2 separate regions of the Homo sapiens genome follow, and region 1 is linked to region 2. Evidence: promoter capture Hi-C in human tissues and cell types (Jung and others, 2019). All regions are on one chromosome and are shown on one strand. The core of a region is centred on a gene start or on the middle of the fragment in contact, and the rest is flanking DNA. Distances in the headings are between cores, read along the strand shown. Region 1 has its middle 27 kb from the start of MYLK. Region 2 holds the start of CCDC14 (coiled-coil domain containing 14).

Evidence for each region. Contacts are between HindIII fragments. The study calls those that stand out against the background at their distance.
Region 1: a contact is called between a fragment that was not itself captured here and the fragment with the promoter of CCDC14 in region 2, in 1 of the 25 tissues and cell types used here (thymus).

Annotation. Positions count from the first base shown.
Region 1 is chr3:123,909,909-123,913,099 of GRCh38, forward strand. It overlaps a transcript of CCDC14 not described here. Among named protein-coding and RNA genes, the nearest start is that of MYLK, 27 kb to the left of the region's middle. The HindIII fragment of the contact is 6,426 bases long and covers 1-3,191 here.
Region 2 is chr3:123,959,764-123,962,757 of GRCh38, forward strand. It overlaps CCDC14 (coiled-coil domain containing 14), which reads right to left and starts at 1,466. Exons shown (of 13, transcript NM_001366335.1): 1 at 1,381-1,466. The coding sequence starts at 1,410. RefSeq lists a silencer at 1,474-1,784. The HindIII fragment of the contact is 4,558 bases long and covers 744-2,994 here.

The DNA of each region.
Region 1 (3,191 bases), core at 77-2,576, 50 kb before region 2:
GTTAGGTGTGCGGCCTTAAGCAAGTATCTTTAAATATGTCTGATTTCAGTTTCCACATGATAATTTTCATATTTCATTATTCATGGCCTCTAAAAGCAGACCTGGCTTCAAGGAGAACAAGCACTGAGAGTTTGTGGTAAACTTGAGCTCTTCCTTTAGAAGCAGCTGAGACCACTTATCTAGTTAGAACCTTAGTCTTCGAGGAAATGCTCATGTCTAGCTAGATGAAAATGGCCACCCATGACTTCCTGCCCCAGCTGCCCTAACATGGTGCCACTCAACACCAAGAATGACAATGTGAATATTATTGGGAAACTAACTACAGCCCTAATATGATCTGCAGCGTGATGGCTAAGATAGCCAACTCAACCTTTGTCCATTTTAAAACTACTATAAGATTATAGAAAATGACAATCTAATGGTCGTCCGCCTGGATCAGATCACATCTGAAGTTCATTGCTGGATTTACATTTTAAGGGACTCACTGACAAACCGGTGGACATCAGAAGAGGGCAAGCAAGATGGTGAGGACTCTTTAAATATTGTCATAAGTCACAGACTGTACAGTGCCCTGCAGTTTTCCAGTGCTTTGCTTACGTTCATCCCTCCCAAAAACTGGTGAGGCAGGCTGGTGGGATAGATTACTCTGCATTAGTGTCATGGTTAAAAAAAAAGTTTCTGTCCTAAATATTTAAGAATCTGTGGCTTCTCCACAGCACAAGCAGAAGTGTGCAAATGTTTGCCAGTAAGTGAATTTGGTTTCAGAAGTCAGTAACTGAATGAAGAATAAAAGGCACAGGGAGGCTAATGCTAGGAACTTAGATGTGTGTAATAAAACTATTAACAAGCTGTTTCATGAACTTAACACCAACAGAAAATCAAGTTATGCCTAGGTGATCATCTGCAGAGATTTAGTTAGGTCCAACAATAGTTATTAAGTACAAACTATATGATAGTCACCAAGGGTCATGAGGGCAGTTGAAAATGAATCAATCCTGGTCCCTATCCTCAAGAAGAGTAGAGGGTAGGAAAGACAGATACGTAAACTGATAAAGACATCACTAGAAATATCTGCAAGGTACAGAAGTAGTACTGTGGATTTCAAGAATAAATAAAAATTTGTCAGGAGGAGCTTGGGCAAAAGGCCGTCCAGGTAAAAGGAATACCCCTGGTGTGCTTGGAATCTTCCAGTAGTAGGTATCCAGTAGTATCACTGTAGAACAGTTCTTTTCTTTGGGTATAACAGTGAGATTATTTCTATAGTCCTTTCAAAAAGTTAACTTTTAAACCCTTCAGAAGTCTAAGATCTTATCATCTCTGGTAATTCTATGGGAGGGTTAGCTCAAGACAACAGCTTTAAATAAAATAGTGCCCGGTTCTCTACAAGTGGTAATATTAATACATCCAGAAAAGTTAAGGGGCTTTGAATTGTGTGTGTTAAGGTATGCTATAGTCTTAGAACCCACATGTTTAAGCAATTCGGAGCAAAAGGAAATCTAGAACTAACATTGGAAAAATGATTAAGGGAGTGTTAACTTACAAATCAAACCCAACTTTCCCTAGTGGTTGCTTAAATTCTGGACCCTTAAACATTATTTTTGAGAAGGGGCCTGTTATCCTAGTAATTAAAACTTAAGCCAACGTTATCACTCTTTTTTCCCTTACCCTGCTTTATTTTTCTTCACAGAACTGACTATATGTTCCTTTGCTTGTGTCCCACTGTATCATAAGCTCTTTAAGGACAGAATGTCTGTCCTGTTTATTGCTGTCTTCTCAGAGCCTATAATAGTAACTGGCACATATTAGAGCTTTCATTTCATTCACTGAGTGAATGAATCTTTAGCTGAGGGAATGTGAGCACTAGTTACCTACCTGGTCAGCTGTGATGAAGCTGCATGCCCTTTTTACCTAAGCAGGTTTTACAATGCTGCCCTACTTTCCATGTAGTTGGAGCAGGCCTTTATCACTTTTAAGGCACTTGACAAGTAAAATGCCACCATCAGTGAAAATAAAGGTTTCTGAAAGATTTACTAAACTCCAGGGGTGGTGGGAATAAGGGAAGAACATGTGGTAAGTACTTCTTTGGTTCTTTAGCCCTGCCCCTAGGATCTCTACACTTGGTCCAATATCATCAGATTCTACCTTTTATCTTCAATGGTGTTCACAACTACTAAATTCATTGTAAAGGGTTGTATATTACCTCCACAGATCAAAGACCGTAAAATAGTGACAAAATGCTAGAGGATGGTTCTCACTCCATGCTCAATACTTATCTGGAGACACGAATTTCAGTGTGTCAGAGGTTAGGGATACTCTGGACATCTACTAATACGCTTTTTGCACTCTGGGACATCTGAAAGGGCTGAGAGGGCTGGGATCTGGGACCAGCCTGACCCTTCTGAGACTACGATGAGGCAGTAATGCTGACTCCTGCTGAGATGATCTAAAGACGACGACTGAGAATGGACTCTCCTCGCCTTTTTATTCTAATGAAGACAACTTCGAACTTAACTAAGAACTTGACTTTTCATTTTAGACATCGCTCAGTGTGTCTCAAACTGATTAAACTGAAAACCTTGGAGTCATCTTTGATTTTTCTATCCTCTGTAGTTCCTATTTGGTCACCCAGCTGACTGAAAAATTTTCGTCAATTTGCCTCTCCTTTTTCACTTTTATTGCCAAAGGATTATGTCTGAACTACTGCAACAGCTTTCTAAATGGTCTCCAGTCTCTCCCTCCTCTAATCCTTCCTATTTACTATCACTCTATGACATTTTAAGAATACCCAACTTCGCCTGGTAATCCTCAACTGAAAAAAAACAAAAAAACAAAAAACACCACCACCAGATCCCCAAATACTCCAATGACTTAATGTTTAATGGATACTCCTCAGCCTGGAGCTCAAGACATTCCACAACTGACCCAAATCTTCTAATTGTGTTTTCTTCATTTATTATTACCACCCCCTCCCCACCTCTATTTCAGTCAGGTTGGTCTACCACGGTACATCCTAATATACCAAATTCAACCAATCTCCACATTTTGATGATACTGACTTTCTAAGGGGGAAACATTTAAGGCTGTTCACAGGATTACCCAAATCCTATGTATTCATCCAAATGAAGTTCTCTTCTAGGTCCTCCTCTACTCTTGGCTTCCTTCTGTTCTAAAGTTCTATAAAACTCACTATG
Region 2 (2,994 bases), core at 216-2,715:
TGGGGCCTCCAATCTTTTTTCATATGCATTTTTTACTTAGTCATAATACCTAGATATTTGCAATTTTAAATCCTGTGTTTTCTACTTTTAAATCTTTTTCATATTCATAAATTTTTAATGGTTGTATAATATTTCCTTCAGTGGAAGTAATATAATAATGGTCTTGGTTTGCTTCATATTTTTCACAATTAAAAAAACAAACCTGGAATAAGCCTTTCTATCTACTGAAAACAGCCTTTTTATATTTAGGATTAAAAAGAAAATTATTTGGTGAAAGGTTATTAGCAATTTAATAACCCTTGATACAAACTGCAAAGCTGCTCTCCAAAAGGAGTGTCCTAATCACAATACAGGAGAATCAGTTTGCTTTATTTTACACTTACTTCTACGAGGTTATTATCATTAAACTTTTAATTTTGCTATTTGAGAATCATATAAGCATTTCTTAGTAGTCATATCTCCTACCAACAAGTACAAGATAATACTGCCTTTGTAGAATGACTTACAGTGTGCTAAGGTCTTTCATTTTCACTTAATCCATACCCTGTGAGTTATTATTTGTGAGGTGGGAACCTAAATTTCAGAAAAGTGGTTTGTTCAAAGTCATACATCTACTAGGTAAAATGTTTAAAAGAAGAATGGACTCTGGCATCAGTTTTGTGAGTCTGAATCTTGTTTCCACAGCTGTGTAACTGCCAAGTTATTTGAATCCTCCAGCCCTCGATTTCCTCATATATAAAATAGGGATAATAGTACTTACCTCATAAGGATATCGTGACTATTAAATGAGTTATTCTATGTAATACATAAAAGCACTTACAGTAGCATCTGCCACATAAGTCCTATCTAAATGTTGGCTGCTGTTATCATTAAGATGGTGGCAAACTACGTGTTTTAAAGGGAACTAAATTTTGTTGTATGTCTACAACAACTGTGTGATCGATGTTTTTACCGGGTTCTCTTATTTAACCTTCTCAATTCTTTGAGACAGGATTTTATGCTTATTTCTGCCTATTTTGCAGCTAAGGAATAGGAAGTTCTGAGCAGTAAAAAGTAGTAGACTCTCAATCTGCAGGTGACTGAAGCTAGGAGAGGTTAAGTCACTCGACGCAGCGGCGAAGGCTGGGACTCGAACCCGGGCCTGACCCCAAAGCCGGCGCTCTAGACTAGGGCTACGACGATTTAAACAGAAACATCTAGAGACCGAGCGGCCGTGTTACGACGGGAAGATTAGGTGTTCCCTGCACCTCTGTCCCAGCACTTTAATGTCGCCGCATTGTCTTTGTCTTTTTTCGAGCAGAGTTTTACAAGTTCCTGGCCCGAAAACCCCCCTGTCCCTCTCCATCCCCACAGCGGACTCCTCAGGTCCTCAGCCCTCACCTGGCCCGGTCGAGCTCCAGACCTGACCATCTCTCGCCGCCTCAGAGAAGCCCAGACCGAGGGAAGTGAAGCCTCACGGTAAAAAGAATTAACCGCCGTGGGCTCCCGGACCTTCTTGGCCCGCCCGCCGAGCTTCCGCTTCCGGAAAGGATCCCGCCGAATGCCGCGCTTCATAGTCTCCGACGCGCCTCCACTCCCTTTCTCCTGCTCCAGGCCCAGCGCCTTGGGCGTACGCAATAGACCCCTCCAAGCTTCCCGGCTTGTCACCCACCGGCAGGGGTTGGGAGAAGCCAATAAACGGCGAACGGGGCGGGGCCAAGGCATGGCTGGGGCGGGGCCGGGGCGGAGCCGCCGAGAAAAGAGTTAAGCGGAGGTTCCAGGACTTGCGGTGGGGAAAACGGGGACGAGGACCCGCCAGCGCCAGAGGATGGGACAGGGGTAGGAGGCGAATAGGTTTCAGAAGGAATTGAGCGCGACTTTTTGGGTTTTCGCTCTTTATTTTTAGTTTGGCATCGTGTGCCTTTTGGAAGATTTTGTTCTTGATATTCTATAAAAATAAGACCTCGGGGTTGTTACCTTTGCGTGTGATGGAAATTGCAGAATTATTCCCTGTGGCCACTGATCTCAGAACGGTGTTCATTAGTTGGGATTTTGGGTTTACTTCCATGCGTACTTGTCTCCTCTTATGTTGAGGTAATTACTTTTGATGAAAAATGACACAACATTCTTAGTATTGGCATGTGCACTCATTTTAATGAGGATTTTAGTCATTGGTTTTTAAGGCATTGAGTTTTGGGTTAATGATTTAAATCAAGTTGAAGAGAGATAACTCAGTTTATTCCATTTCAACTGTCACCCAGGCAGGAGTGCAGTGGCGCAATCTCAGCTCACTGCAACCTCTGCCTCCTGGGTTCCAGCGATTCTCCTGCCTCAGCCTCCTGAAGAGCTGGGATTACAGGTGCGTGCCACCACACGCGGCTAATTTTTGTATTTTTAGTAGAGACAGGGTTTCACCCTGTTGGCCAGGCTGGTCTCACACTCCTGACCTCAGGTGATCCGCCCGCCTTGGCCTCCAAAGTGCTGGAATTACAGTGGTGAGCCACCATGCCCGGCCTCATTTCTTTTTAATGGAGAAAAGAGCTACGCTTTAAAAGTCTGTTACAATTAATGTCAAAGCCCAGGAACTAAAATATGTCCACCAAAATATCACACACTTATCCTGAGTGATTTTAGGAAATGAGTATTTCACAGATTTAGTTTTGAATTAGATCAAACTGTGAAAACCTCTCCTTTCCTTCCCCAGCCCTCACATAACTTCATAACTTGCTGACATATTCACCTGAAATTAAGGGGTTTTTTTTAGTTAAGTTGATATTTTTTGAATTCATATTGATTTTTCTTAATACATGTTTATTTTAGAAAATATAGATAAGCAAAAAGGAAAAGACCACCCATAACCCCATTACCCATGAGTTATCACTTTGAACAGCTTGGTGCATTCCCTTCAAGATTTTTTCCACCTACATATATATGTATAAATGTATTACGACAATATGAAATAATAGGTATTACTGTAACATGCGTGTTTTCTCTTAATATCTAATCAACATTGTT